2 separate regions of the Homo sapiens genome follow, and region 2 is linked to region 1. Evidence: promoter capture Hi-C in 16 types of primary human blood cells and fetal thymus (Javierre and others, 2016). All regions are on one chromosome and are shown on one strand. The core of a region is centred on a gene start or on the middle of the fragment in contact, and the rest is flanking DNA. Distances in the headings are between cores, read along the strand shown. Region 1 holds the start of TTPAL (alpha tocopherol transfer protein like). Region 2 holds the start of YWHAB (tyrosine 3-monooxygenase/tryptophan 5-monooxygenase activation protein beta).

Region 1 (7,683 bases), core at 3,307-5,806:
GACAATCAAATGAAACTATCCATGCAAAGAGCTTATCACTGTACCAATGAAAGCATTCAGTGACTGGTAGCAGTTAGTATAGGATTTTATGGTTGATGAAACCAAGGGTTGGAGAGACAGATAACTGTTCCATTGTTACACAGCTGGTAAGTGACACAGGCTTTAGACTCAGGTCTGTCTGACCAGAACCTAACATTCTTTCTCCCACACTAGTTCTTAATTCAGAGCAGCTTTGTCTCCCAGCTGGTATTTGGCAATGTCTGGAGATACCTTTGGTTTTTATCACTGTGAATGTGGAGTGCTACTGTCATCTAGTGGGTAAAGCCTAGGAATGACATTAAACATCCTACAGGACAACATCTCTCCCATGCCCCCGAAACAAAGACTTTTCCAGCTCCAAATGTCAATAGTGCTAATGTTGAGAAATTATGCCCTATACTGTGGTGCCATCCTAAATAAGCCTTGCCAGGCAGGGCACGGTGGCTCACTCCTGTAATCCCAGCACTTTGGGAGGCTGAGGCAGGCAGATCATCTGAGGTCAGGAGTTTGAGACTAGCCTGGCCAACATGGTGAAACCCGTCTCTACTAAAAATACAAAAATTAGCCGCGCGTAGTGGTACACACCTGTAGCCCCAGCTACTAGGGAAGCTGAGGCAGGAGAATCGCTGGAACCCAGGGGGTACAGGTTGCACAGAGTCGAGATTGTGCCACTGCACTCCAGCCCGGGTGACAGAGTGGGACTCCATCTCAAAAAAAAATAAAAAGAAAATAAATAAAACTAAATAAGCCTTACCTTAGAATCAATACTAAGGCTGGTCCTAGGAGATTTTCTGAGCTCAGAATCACAGGCCCTGAACAGAGACAGCTCAGGCATGTCTAGCCTCCTCCAGCAGGTATGCAATGCAATGTCAAGATTTTTTTCTTCAGAGGCTGGATGAAACGAGGAGAGCAAGATGTTTGAAACCTTCCAAACCAAGACACAGGGCAAGCCGCCCCCTGGTGATCTTTCTGCTTGAGAGGGGGTGATCATCACCGATAAACAGACATTTCATGATACAATGTGCCAGAACTCTGCACATGCCATTCTTTTTTTTTTTTGAGACAGAGTCTCACTCTGTTGCCCGGGCTGGAGTGCAGTGGCATGATCTCGGCTTACTGCAACCTCTGCCCCCCGGTACAAGCGATTCTCCTGCCTCAGCCTCCTGAGTAGCTGGGATTACAGGCGTGTGCCACCACACCCAGCTTGTTTTTTTGTGTTTTTAGTAGAGACAGGGTTTCACCCTGTTGGCCAGGCTGGTCTCAAACTCCTAGCCTCAAGTGATCCGCCCGCCTCAGCCTCCCACAGTGCTGGGGTTACAGATGTGAGCCACCGTGCTCGACCTGCACATGCCGTTCTATGACATCCTCCCAAGGATCCCCTCTAAACAAAGGCCATATCCCCATTTTATACATAAGGAAATGAGTCTTTTCAAGAGGTTGTTCAGACTCCATAAATTCTGAGTGTCCAAGGCAGAGAAGACAGACATCAAATACCAGCTCAAACACTTAGTCATCATGTGACTTTGGGCAATTTTTTGTCCTTCTCTGATCCTTTTTCCCAACCTGTAGAAACAGAGACAGGGCTACATGACCTTTAGGACAAAGTAAAATTTGGGACCATGGTGTCATACAGGCTTGAATTGATACCTAGCTCTCTCTTTCATATCTTGAGCCCTTAGGAGACTTTCTCTTTCTGAATATTTTACATTATTTTATTTTATTATTATTTTTTGAGATGGAGTCTCGCTCTGTTGCCCGGCCTGGAGTGCAATGGCACAATCTTGACTGACTGCAACCTCCACCTCCCGGGTTCAGGTGATTCTCCTGCCTCAGCCTCCAGAGTAGCTGGGATTACAGGCGCCTGCCACCATGCCTGGTTAATGTTTGTATTTTTAGTAGACACGGGATTTCACCATGTTGGCCAGGCTGGTCTCAAACTCCTGACCTCAAGTGATCCACCACTTTGGCCTCCCAAATTGCTGGGATTACAGGCATGAGCCACCAAGCCTGGCCTCTTTCTGGATTTTAGTTTCCTCTTCTGTAAATGGGACAATCCTAGCTCGCTGTTCACAGGGTCATTGTAAGGTGAAATTAAGATCATACAAGCACAGTGCCTGGTATATATAATTCAAAAAGCAGAAACTCTTTTTGTTGTCATTGTTTATCGGAGATGTTCTAATCCTGATATAATCTGGTTCTCTAAAATGTAATACCAAGAGGAACAAGAAATAATGGCCCTCAGTTGAGGGAAGAGGCAGGGATTTCTGGGGCATCTCTGAATCCTCTCCCTGCCCTGCCCTTGAGACCAAGTTCTTCTCCTGCTGGCAACATCTAGGATTGCCATCTGGGCTCCAGGTACCAGTAGTAGGTCCTAGGTTTGGGTTAAGGAGAGGGGTGAATTTATTCCAATACCTAGGACAGCCTGGTTAGGACAGGGTCATCCCTCACCCTTTGCCACAAGAGCTGCCATTTGGCAGGGCGCAGGAGAATGGCTTGAGCCCAGGCAGCCTCCCAGGTGGCTGGGATTACAGGCCTGGCTAATTTTTGTATTTTTAGTAGAGACAGGGTTTCACCAGGTTGGCCAGGCTGGTCTCGAACTCCTGAACTCAGGTGATCCACCTGCCTTGGCTTCTCAAAGTGCTGAGATTATAGGCATGAGCCACCACATCCGGCTGTTTTGGGGGGTTTTCTTTTTGAGACAGAGTCTCGCTCTGTCGCCCAGGCTGGAGGGCAGTGGCATGATCTCGGCTCACTGCAACCTCTGCCTCCTGGGTTCAAGTGATTCTCCTGCCTCAGGCTCCCGCATAGTTGGGTGTGACAGCCGGAAGTGGGGGCCTCGGATTACAGGCGTGTGCCACCACGCCCAACTAATTTTTGTATTTTTAGTAGAGACAGGGTTTCACCATGTTGGCTGGGGTGGTCTCATCATACTCCTGATCTCAAGTGATCCACCTGCTTCAGCCTCCCAAAGTGCTGGGATTCCAGGCGTGAGCCACTGCACCCGGCCTTACCTTACGTTTTAAAAGATCTCACAGATGTGATTAATGTAAGGATCTTGAGATGGTAAGATTATCCTGGATTATCTGGCTGAGCCCAATGTAATCCCAAGAGTCCTTATAAGAAGAGGGAAGCAGGAGGATCAGTCAGTAGTAGAGGTGACAACAGAAGCCAGAGGTTGAGGTGATTTGAAGAAGGGGCCATAAGCTAAGGAATGCAGGTGGCCTCTACAAACTGTAAAAGGAAAGGAACTGATGCTTCCTCCAAATCCCCAAAAGAATGCAGCCTTGCCAACACCTTGATTTTAGACTTTTGACCTAGAGAACTGCAAGAGAATATATCTGTGTTGTTTCAATCCATGAAGTTTGCAGTAATTCCTTGTAACAGTAACAGGAAAATAATACATAGATTTAGCAAACAAAACAAAATCCAGGATGCCCAGTAGTCATATTTGAATTTCCTATAAACAACAATTTTTAAAGTATAAATGTGTCCCAAATGTTGCATAGGACACACTTATCTGTGTGTATGTGTGTGTGTGTTTGGAAAGGAACATGCTTAAATGTTTATCTGAAATTCAAACTGTAGTGAATGTTATATATTTTGTCTGTCAATCTTAGAAGTGATGAAACTGAGAGCAGGAGTCAAAACTCATGATTCCCAGGTCGCCTCCATACTGCTGCCCCCTGCCCCTCAATCTGGCAGAAACTGCCACGTTCTTGTGGCCCTCATGGGTCACTTCCCATCTTCTTGGGACTCCTCTTGCCCCTGGGGTAGGAAAATGAAAAGACTGTTTAAGGTCGTTTCTTTAGGCTCAGAGTTCTCCTGGACCACCAGAGGTTCTGCCTCAGAGGGACCTAGGAGATTTGCCTCAAAGTTGCAGTTGCACAAAATACTTGCGGGCGGATCTTAATGGACTGGGGTGGGAGTTAGTAAAGCCTTTGTCTGGAGGGAACGTAATGAACCCCAAAGCAGGAAAAAAGTAATTATTGAATCAGGCTCCAGAGCAAGAATCAGGTTTCAGGTAAGGAAACGGAAGCACAAGAAGGAATGGGGACTTGCTCCAGGTCACTCAGTTAATGACAGACAGATGTCCCCTGGTTTGGAGTCTCCCTTTTTGGAGCAGCTAGTCCTGATAGCAGCCATAGTGGGGGGAAGTCTAGAATGCTAATCCTGAGGTCCGGGTTTGAAGCCCTTTACTGCCTTGATTGCCAGTTTCCCTTTCCTGAAATAGGGGAATTGCATAAATATGAGGAGTTAATGAGATCATGGATGTTAAACAACAGGTACATGTTAGCATGTTCTTGGAAAATGGCAGCTTCTTTCCTTCCTTCTCTGAGCCTCAGTTTCCCCATCTATAAGCCGGGTTTGACAAGCGGCTGGTGCCCCAGCTCCTCCCAGCCACTCCAGGTCCGCAGCTCGGAGCTCCGGCAGCCAGGTGGGGACTGAACACCAACGCCGCGGGGAGGCGTCGCACATGCGCGCTCCTAGGCGGAGCCCCGCCTCCCACGCCCTGGATCGTCACTTCCGGCGCGAGAGGCCGGGCAGGCCGGGCAGGGAGTGCGGGTCGGTTCTGCGTGCGCTGCCGGACGAGGCTCCCGCCGCCGATTGACCCGCGCTCCGCCCGTAGTCGGGCCGGTGAGTGCCCGCGAGCCCATCCGTGTGCCCTGGGAGCTGAGGAGAGGGACCCCTGAGAGGGAAGGATAACCGGAAGTGGGGACCAGAGGAGCGAGAGACCCCAGGAAATGGGGACACCTGGGGAGGGGGTGACAGCCGGAAGTGGGGGCCTCGGAAGGTTGTCCACGGGATATGGGGTCTCGGGGGCTCTAGGAGAGATGGCTTCCTGACCTCTCCTTGTTGAGAGGAAGGGGTGGAAAGGAAAGTGATGCTCCAGAAAGGATGGGCTCCAGGTGGGGGAGATCTTTGGCTTCACCGTTACCAATGGTGTCTGCATCTCACTCATATGTCCGCCTGTCAGCTCATTCACCAGCCTGTGACTGAGTCCTGCTGAGCGCTCGGCACTGCTGAGTCCCTGGAGAGTCAACATGAAGCTCCAGGTGGAGGGTACAGATTAGAAGCCCAGGGTGGGGCTAGACGCATCCTTGCTCTGCCTCACCGGGTGTGCCCCCTTGGGCGAATCGCTTAACCTATATCCTCCGCTGATGTGTACAGACCACTGCCATGTGCCCGGCACTGGGGGTGGCAGTGGACATGGCAGACAAGCCCTCTGCCCTCGTGGAACTTAGATTCTAGGGGACAGTCCTTTTTGTCCTCCTTTGTAAAATGGCAACAGTAATAGCGCTCTCACCAAATAACGTGAAGATTAAATGAGGAAATGGGTAAAGGGCTTAGCAATGCTTGATACATGGTAAAATGCTCAAGTATGCATTCTCTTCATTCCACTATAATGTAAGCTTTATTAGGCAAGGAATTGTATTGTTTGCGTCTGTGTTCCCAGTGCCTGTGAGCACAGTGCCTGACATATATGGTAGGTGATCGGTAATTATTTGATAAATGAGTGCGTGGTGAAACTGACTCTAGATAAATGCCCATAGCATTGGACTGTAATTTCTAAAAAAGAAATAGGAACCCAGTTCTGTGGAAAACTGGAGGGAATCACCCTCAGGGAGTTTGGGAAGGATTCACTGAGGTGGTGACATGGCAGCTGAGCCTGAGCTGTCAAGTTAGGAACAAATTAGAAGAGGAAATTCCAGGCAGAGTGTATCAGAAGTGCACGAGTTATTCCAAGGATGATGGGTTATTAGTTTGTTTTGACTGGCATTTAATGTGCATCAAGGTGGGGTGCGATGGAAAATGAGGCTGGAGAGGGGCTTTGAGGTGAGGCTTGTACCTTGTGAACACTGATGTTTGATGGGATTGCAGGCATCTCTTGGTTACTTCCATAGAAACAAAGCCATAGTTGTTCCATTCCTCACTTAGCATACCTGTGCCAACCAGACTAAAGTCATTCAACAAATATTTATGGAGTGCAGATTATGTGTCTAACACCATGTTAGGCGCTGGGTTTCAGGTGATGAACAAGACAAACTTGGATGTTGCTCACAAATTGCCAACAGACAATTGCAACAGGGTGGGAGAAGTGCGGGGGAGGCACCTAACCTGGCTGGGGGTCAGTGAAGGCTACCTACTCCAGGCCACCAGCATCTCTCAGCTGGATTATTGCAATAGCCTCTAAATGGTCTGCTTCAGTCCTCACTCCCTTAGAGTCCATTCTCAAGACAGCAGATTGGTCCTTTTAAAATATATTTTTATTTATTTATCTATCTATCTATTTATTTATTTATTTATTTATTTATCTGAGATAGCGTCTCGCCCTGTCGCCCAAGCTGGAGTGCAGTGACATGATCTCGGCTCACTGCAACCTCCGCTTCCTGGTTTCAAGCGATTATCCTGCTTCAACCTCCCAAGTAGCTGGCACTACAGGCCCGCACCACCATGCCTGGCTAATTTTTGTATTTTTAGTAGAGACAGGGTTTCACCATGTTGGCCAGGCTGGTCTCGAACTCCTGACCTCAGGTGATCCATCCACTTCAGCCTACCAAAGTGTTGGGATTACAGGCATAAGCCACCACACACAGCCCAAGAAAAAATTTAAAAATTAGCCAGGCGTGGTGTGTGCCTATAGTCCCAGCTACCTGGGAGGCTGAGGCAGGAGGATTGCTTGAACTTAGGAGTTCGAGGTTGCAGAGAGCTATGATTGCGCCACTGCACTTCAGCCTGGGTGACAGAGCAAGACCCTGTCTCTCTCTTAAACAAAAAAGTGCATGAGTTCAGGTCCTCTAAGAAGCAGACACTAGGATGAGGTTAGACGTGCTAGAAATGTAGAGGCAACCCTTGCGAAGGACAGCACCTGGGAAGGGAGCTGGAGAAGTCAGGAAGAGCCACTGGCAGTGATGCAGATCAGCTCCTGTGAAGGAGGTTTGGGCAGCAAGTCTCTGACTGCAGGGCAGTCCCAACAAAGGTTTGGCCAGGCCCTCAAGCAAACGCTGCCTGTTAGAGGAGTCCTATGTCTCACTAAATCATTGGCTAGGAGCAGTGAGGCCACAGAAGGGCTGTGGAAAGTTCTGGCTTCCCCTGGATAGTGGATCTAGAGGGACAGCCACTGGGGCCCTTTATCAATTACGTTTTCCCAGCAGATCTGACCGGCACATATTCCCGACTGCCACGATAAGTTACATGGGTGTGTAGTAAAAAATTCAAACAGTATAGTAAAAATCCTCTTTCTCATCTTAAATCTTCACTTGTCCAGTTCTGTTCCAAGAGATAACCATTGGTAAGTTTCTTATATCTCTTTCCAGAAGTTTTGTGTGCATTCACAAGTGTATGTGTATAGTTTAAAAACGTGATTTTCTGTACACTATTCTGCAACTTGCTTTTTTAATATGTCAATTCATAAAGATCTGCCTACTTTTCGCTTTTTTTGTTTGTTTGTTTTGAGAGGGAGTCTTGCTCTGTCACCCAGGTGGGAGTGCAGTCATGATCTCGGCTCACTGCAAGCTCTGCCTCCCGGGTTCACGCCATTCTCCTGCCTCAGCCTCCCTAGTAGCTGGGACTACAGGCACCTGCCACCACGCCCGGCTAATTTTTTGTATTTTTAGTAGAGATGGGGTTTCACCGCGTTAGCGA
Region 2 (7,683 bases), core at 5,184-7,683, 410 kb after region 1:
TCCTGCCTCAGCCTCCCAAGGAGCTGGGATTATAGGTGCATACCACCACACCCATCTAATTTTTGTATTTTTAGTAGAGATAGGGTTTCACCATGTTGGCCAGGCTGGTCTCGAACTCCTGACCTCAGGTGATCTGCCCTCCTTGGCCTCCCAAAGTGCTGGGATTACAGGTTGAGCCACTGTGCCTGGCTGCATCACGCTCTCTCCTAATTTGTTCTTTTTTCTTTAAAAACTTGAGCCTCTCTTTTGTTCTGTGGGGCACTTCCTATTGCTTCCCTGGCTGCAGTCCTCAACTTTGGTCCAAATAAACTCTATATTAATTTTGCCTGAGTTTCTTTCTTTAGCTCAACAGGTATAACATAAAAAACATGATCCATGAAAGAAAAATTGGTAAGTTAGACTTCATCAAAATTAGTGCAAAGTCACTGTCGAGAGGATAAAAGACAAGCTACAGACAAGAAGAAAAAATCTTTGCAAAGCACATATCACCTAAAGGACGAGTATGCAAAATATACAAAGAATTCTTAAAATTCAGTGATAAAAAAGCAAATAATCCAATTAAAATGAGTGAAAAAATCTGAACATACACCTAACCAAGGAAAATATACAGGTGGCAAATAAGCACATGAAAAGATGCTCAACATTGTATGTCATGAGGGAATTGCAAACTAGAACAATGAGATACCATTACACACCTATTCAACTGGTTAAATTCAGAAAAACAAAAACACAAACAACAAGAAAAAACTCTCACTATATCAGATGCTGGCATGAGTATGGAGCAACCGGAGCTGTTACTGTTGGTGGAAATACAAAATAGTACAGCTCCTTTGGAAAACAATTTGGTAGTTTCTTTATCTTTCTTTTTTTTTATTTTATTTATTTATTTATTTATTTATTTATTTATTTATTTATTTATGAGATAGAGTCTCACTCTGTTTGTTGTCCAGGCTGGAGTGCAGTGGCACGATCTTGGCTCACTGTAACCTTTGCCTCCCAGGTTCAAGCAATTCTCCTGCCTCAGACTGCCAAATAGCTGGGATTACAGGCACCCGCCACCAAGCGTGGCTAATTTTTGTATTTTTTTTGTTTTTTGTTTGTTTGTTTGTTTTTTTAGTAGAGACAGGGTTTCATTTACTATGTTGGCCAGGCTTGTCTTGAACTCCTGATCTCAGGTGATCCACCGATCTCGGCCTCCTGAAGTGCTGGGATTACAGGCATGAACCACTGTGCCTGGCCTTTTTTTTTTTTTTTCTCTGAGATGGAGTCTCACTCTGTCGCCAGGCTGGAGTGCAGTGGCACATTCTTGGCTCACTTCAACCTCTGCCTCCCGGGTTCGAGTGATTCTCTTGCCTCAGCCTCCCAAGTAGCTGGGACTACAGGCATGCGCCACCACACCCCGCAAATTTTTGTATTTTTAGTAGAGATGGGGTTTCACCATGTTGGCCAGGATGTTCTCGATCTTTTGACCTCGTGATCCACCTGCCTCGGCCTCCCAAAGTGCTGGGATTACAGGCGTGAGCCACCGTGCCCGGCAGCCTATTTTTATTTTTAATGTTTTTTTAGGGATGGGGTCTTGCTGTGTTGCCCAGGCTGGAGTACAGTGGCTATTCACAGGCACCATCCCACTACTGATCAGCACGGGAGTTTTGACCTGCTCTGTTTCCAACCTTGGCCAGTTTACCCCTTCTTAGGCAATCTGGTGGTTCCCTGCTCCCGGGAGGTCATCATATTGATGCTGAACTTAGCGCAGACGCCCAGGCAACATAGTGCACTGCAGCCCAGAACTCCTGGCCTCAAGCGATCCTCCTGCCTCAGCCTCCTGAGTAGCTGGGACTACAGGCACGCGCCACCACACCTGGCCAGTTTACTAGTTTCTAACAAAGCTAAACATTGTCTTAACGTATAATCTAACAGTCACACTCTTAGGTATTTACTCAAACAAGTTGAAAACTTATGCCCAAACAAAAACCTGCACACAGATGTTTATCATGGTTTTCTTCATAATTGTCAACAGCTGGATCAAGATAGCTCTCAGTAGGTCTATTAGTTCCCTAAGCCTGCCATAACAAAGGGCCACAAACTGGGTGGCTTAAAACCACAAAAACATATTCTCTCACCATTCTGGAGGCTAGAAGTCTAAAATCAGTGTGACAGCAGAGTCTTGCTCCCTTTGAGACTCTGGGTAGAATCCTTCCATGCCTCTTCCTGGCTTCTGGTGCTGCCCAGCAATCCTTAGTGTTCCCTGGCTCACAGCTCATCACTCCAGTCTCGGCCTCCATTGTCATGTGTTGTTTCCCATGTGTGTCCTGTCTTCAGATGGCATTTTCCTCCTTCTTTAGGGCACCAGCCACGTTGGATTAGGACCCACTCGAATGACCTCATTTTAATTGATTATACTGCAAAAGCCCTTTTCCAAATAAGGTCACATACACAGATTCCAAGGGTGAAAGCTTCAGCATATCTTTCTGGAGGATACAAGTCAATCCTTAAGAATAGGTTAATGGGCCAGGTGTGGTGGCTCACACCCGTAATCCCAGCACTTTGGGAGGCCGAGACAGGCAGATCACCTAAGGTCAGGAGTTTGAGACCAGCCTGGCCAACATGGCAAAACCCTGTCTCTATTAAAAATAAAAAATTAGCTAGGCATGGTGGCACACACCAATAATCTCAGCTACTTGAGAGGCTGAGGCAAGACTCACTTGAACCTGGGAGGCGGAGGTTGCAGTGAGCTGAGATCATGCCACTGCACTCCAGCCTGAGCAACAGAGTGAGACTCTCTCTGGAAAAAAAAAAAGAATAAGTTCATGCATAAACACAATATGGTAGATTCATACAAGGGGATTTTTTAAGCAATCAAAAGAAATAAGTTATCAAATCATAAAAAGACATGAAGGAAACTTAAATCACATTACTTAATAAAACAATCCAGTCAGAAAAGGCGACATATGTGCTGGGTACAATGGCTCACACTTTATTACCCAGCACTTTAGGAGGCCAAGGCAAGAGGATTGCTTGAGCCTGGGTGTTCAAGACCAGCCTGGGCAACATGGCAAAACCCCATCTCTATAAAAAATACAAAAATTAGCTGGGTGTGGTGGCACACGCCTGTAGTCCCAGCTACTAGGGAGGCTGAGGTGGGAGAATCACTTGAACCCAGGAGGTCGAGGCTGCAGTGAGCTGTGATTGCACTACTGCACTCCAGCCTGGGTGACAGAGTGACACCCTGTCAAAAAAAAAAAAAAAGAAGGAAGGAAAGAAAGAAAGAAAGAAAGAAAGAAAGCGAGCAACATATTGTATGATGTAACTATATGACATTCTAGAAAAGGTAAAACTATAGTGTAAAAGGTCTGCGGTTGCCAAAGGTTGGGGTGAGGGGAGGGAGTGAGGGATGAAGAGTTGAAGCAAAGATTTTTAGGACAGTAAAACTTTTATTTATATACATGACATTATGCATGTGTCAAAACCTATAGAACTATGTACAACATAAAGAATGAACCCCAATGTAAACTACGGACTTTAGTTAATAATGATGTATTAATACTGGCTCATCAATTGCAACAAATGTACCACTCTAATACAAGATGTTAATAATAGGGGAAATTGTGTGGAGGAGGGAGAGGGAATGTGGGAACTCTGTAATATCTGGTCAATTTTTCTGTAAACCTAAAACTGTTCTAAAAAATTAAGTCTATTGGCCAGGCACAGTGGCTCACACCTGTAATCCCAGCACTTTGGGAGGCCATGGCAGGAGAATCACTTGAGGCCAGGAGTTTGAGCCCAGCCTGGGCAACATAATGAGACTCTGTCTCTACAAAAACATTTTTAAAAATTAAGTCTATAATTTGAAAAAAGATTCACTGCAGTATATAAGGCTCTAGTATCACTTCTTTAAGGAAATCTTTCCTGCTCTCCCATCATATTCCCAAGATGGGTTAGGTGCTCTTCTCCCAAGCTCCCATAATACCCTGCACATATATTTATTTCTATGGTTGCACCTACCACATTGTATTTTAACATTTATCTGTATCGCTGTCAGTTCATAGCTGTGGTTTGCTGACGCTTGGCCTAGAATGCAGAGATGGTGAAATAAGCTAATCCATTGAACCCTTTAACAGGCACCTAGGAATGCCTGACAAAGGGCACTTCTGTTCCCTCAATGCACTGTTGATGTCATTTGTGGTATAATCATTATTAGCCCTCTGGTCCATTAGGCTATTTTCTGGATGACGGCATAAGGCACAGTCTTGTGACATTAAAAGTTACTTAGCCTGAGTAGTCTCTAGATTACTGGTCTAGGGTCTGCCAAAGACGATCCTCATGGGGAAGTTTTTGCACTAACCTCTCCAGGATTCAAATCCAATGGTTTTGACCCAAAACCATGCTGTTTACGTTACACAACACGTTCTCAATCTTGTTCAACTTAAAAGGTGGCACAGTACAGGGGTCACTGGCACACATGCCTACATGACAGATAACATAAGTGACAAAAGCAGACTCAGGTCGAGAAGGGTCCCTGGCATTTGGGAAAGTCCATGCCCAGTCTAGAACAGGCAGCCACTCCTTGGCTTCAGCCAATTGTTGCCACACAGAAATGTGGACACAGTGTTACCAGACAAGGCAGAGAGGCAGATTTCTGTTCACACAGAAACTTTTCAGTTTAAAAAAGTGTTGGCAACTAAGTCAAACTGCTTAGAAATACTGGAGATGGCATATTGGGAGGGTAAGGAATCATCCAATTGAATTGGGGTATTTACGATGGGGGAGAAATAGCAGCTAAAGGATAAGGGCAGCTTTTGGAGAACCCTGATTGTCACACTCAAGGAACTTATATATTGTCATCTAGGTCTGAGTGCACACTAAATAATTTAAGCAAGAACAGGACACGATTAGAATGGTATTTTTAAAAGATCACTTGGCAGTTGACGGGCGAGGCTGAGACCAAATGGTGAATTAGAAGTCTGTCATTTAGCTAAGTAAGGGTAAAGGCAAGACGGCAAAGGCCTATTTACTTGGCTTTTTCTCCTACCCGACTGCAAACTCCAAGACAGCAGGGCCCCACCTGCCTTGTTCATTGCTGTGTCTCCAGCACTAAGCAAAAAGCCTGTTCAACATTTGTTGAAAGAATAAATGAACAGGAGAGAGGGAAGGCGAGAGGCATTTTGAAGGACTGAGTTTAAAAATCAACTACCTTGAAGCCGGTCGAGGTGGTTCATGTCTGTAATCCCAGCACTTTGGGAGGCTGAGGCGGGTGGATCACCTGAGGTCAGGAGTTTGAGACCAGCCCGGCCAATATGGCGAAGCCCCGTGTCTACTAAAAATACAAAAACTAGCCGAGAGTGGTGGCATGCACCTGTTATCCCAGCTACTCAGGAGGCTGAGGCAGGAGAATTGCTTGAACCTGGGAGGCAGAGATTGCAGTGAGCCAAGATTGTGACACTGCCTGGGCGACAGAAAGAGACTCTGTCTCAAAAACAGAAAACAAAACAAAACAAAACAAAACAAAATCAACTACCTTCAGAGGAGTAGAATGTTGGTAATTGTGAGAGCAGTCATGGAGGGGAGGGGAGCCATGGAGGCCTGTTTCCTTCCCTGAACTTCCTCAACGAGGGGGCATCTTAAAGAAGAAATCATGTACACAGATTTTTGTGGGTTTTTTTTGGAGACAGGGTCTCACTCTGTCTCCCAGGTTGGAGTGCAGTGGCATGACCATAGCTCACTGCAGCCTACAACTCCCGGCCTCAAGCAATCCTCTCACCTCAGCTTCCCAAAGTGCTGAGATTACAGGCGCGAACCACTGCGCTCGACCCTACACAGGTTTTTTAAAAAGACGTTTGTGCATTGGATTCCTGGCACTTCACGTGGCCTCTTCAGTCTACCAAAGAAGGAAAAGGTAAGTACCCTGAAGGATTGAAAGGATTAAATGAACATTGAGGGATGAGCAATTTCTGTTCTTCCCTGGCTCCAGCATTACCAAAGCACACAGTAAGAGGACTGACATCGGCCTCCGACCCAGTGAGGATTACTTTCGGGGTGGAGGGGGAACTGCTAAACCTCGAATCTCCGGGACTGGCCCTGGCGCGTTTCCAGTCCCAGCAGAAAGGGCAATCCCCATCCAGACCACACTCCTAGTCCTCCTTATTCCCACACAGCCCGTATCTTGACCACCCCCAGCTCCGCCCTCTCTCCTCCCACCTCCTTTTCCCGCTCCCCCGCCCCATTTCCTTCTTCTCCGCCCACCTCCTCCTGGGTCCCTCCCCCGGCCATCCGCCCTGCCCCGGCCCCTGCAACCCTGCCTTTCGCTCTTCTTCCTCCTCCCTTCCGTCTGCGCCCCTCCCGTGGGGCCGTGGCAACCCCGTGCCTCGCTTGCCCAATGAGAACACGGTTTGGGGCGGGGCGCGGCCAGGACCGGAGCGGAAGTGGCGATCGGAGCGGAAGTGGAGCTACCGCCACCGCCGCCGCCGATTCCGGAGCCGGGGTAGTCGCCGCCGCCGCCGCCGCTGCAGCCACTGCAGGCACCGCTGCCGCCGCCTGAGTAGTGGGCTTAGGAAGGAAGAGGTCATCTCGCTCGGAGCTTCGCTCGGAAGGGTCTTTGTTCCCTGCAGCCCTCCCACGGTGAGTGCGGCGCGGGGTCCGACCGGGGCCCCCGGGGGCCCAAACTCGAAGCCCCTCTCTGGCTGCTGCGACGACGGCGGCCCAGTGGGTGGGCCCCGTGGGGTAGCGGCGCGCTGCCTCTTTCGCTCCGCGCGGCCGCCGGCGGCGAGGCCAGACCTCGCAGCGGCCCCTCCCTGTTTCCGGGGCCGGGCCCTTTACCTCTTGGAGAGGCTCGGGCCGCCTGAGGTCCTGCCGGCCGGGCGGGGTGCAACTCCGTACTGTGCCGTAAGGGACAGCGGAGCCGGGGATCCCGGACCCTCCCTCACTATCTGCTTCGGGCCCCACGCGACCCCTCCCTGCGTCTTGGTCGGCAAGAACGTCCCCTTCAGCCCTGTCACCTCTGCTCCGTGCTTTCTGGTTTCCAGAAATTAAAATTTAATCAAACGCGGATGAGTTTTCTAGCCCCAGTCCCCGTGTTTGGCTCCTCCTGGATGAGTAAGGGGTTTAACCTTGGGAGACAGCAGTGGGGGAACCCCCTCCCATTTTGCAGTAAAACCATTTCATCATCCTTCACTGGTTATGGAGCCTGGCAGGACCCAAGATTCCCTAGGAAGGGAATTGGGTTTGAATCAAGAAAATCTGTTTGTTGGAGCCGGTTACTGAGTCAGGCCGGATCCCCAGGAAAAAATATCAGGGGGTGAGAATCGGAGTATTTTCTCACAGTATTTACCGTCATTTAATGCCAGATTCTTTTGTGTCTTTACCCCAAATTCCCCCATATTGTGTGTTAGCACGTTTTTCGGTCTGAAATTTGCCCGGTGGCTTCCTGGTCGGGGGGTGGGGAGCGGAGGGAAGAAGAGGTGGGAAGGTGAGTGCATCTTTGCCGCAAATGGAGAACTCCCATATAATGGGGTTTTCAGAGGTGGCAGCCTTGGTAAGCAATTTGCCAACCTTTCTGTAAAATACATGTTTCTTGTCGTTGCCTTCATTGCATTTCTCTTTGGTAAGGCTAGATAGCATCAGGTCCTGATTTTGCTTGCCCTGTGTGGGAGATGGAATTTGGCAAGATGATGCTATGAACATAAAATC

Evidence for each region. The method cuts DNA at HindIII sites, captures the fragments that hold promoters and counts their contacts. A CHiCAGO score of 5 or more calls a contact.
Region 2: the fragment with the promoter of YWHAB here is called in contact with the fragment with the promoter of TTPAL in region 1 in 1 of 17 cell types (naive CD8 T cells); the score reaches 6.3 in naive CD8 T cells.

Annotation. Positions count from the first base shown.
Region 1 is chr20:44,471,318-44,479,000 of GRCh38, forward strand. TTPAL (alpha tocopherol transfer protein like) reads left to right here and starts at 4,557. Exons shown (of 5, transcript NM_001039199.3): 1 at 4,557-4,674. RefSeq lists an enhancer at 4,353-4,442 and a silencer at 4,533-4,662. The HindIII fragment of the contact is 9,114 bases long and covers 1-5,448 here.
Region 2 is chr20:44,879,272-44,886,954 of GRCh38, forward strand. YWHAB (tyrosine 3-monooxygenase/tryptophan 5-monooxygenase activation protein beta) reads left to right here and starts at 6,434. Exons shown (of 6, transcript NM_139323.4): 1 at 6,434-6,615. RefSeq lists silencers at 6,058-6,117, 6,178-6,727 and an enhancer at 6,164-6,780. The HindIII fragment of the contact is 6,156 bases long and covers 2,452-7,683 here.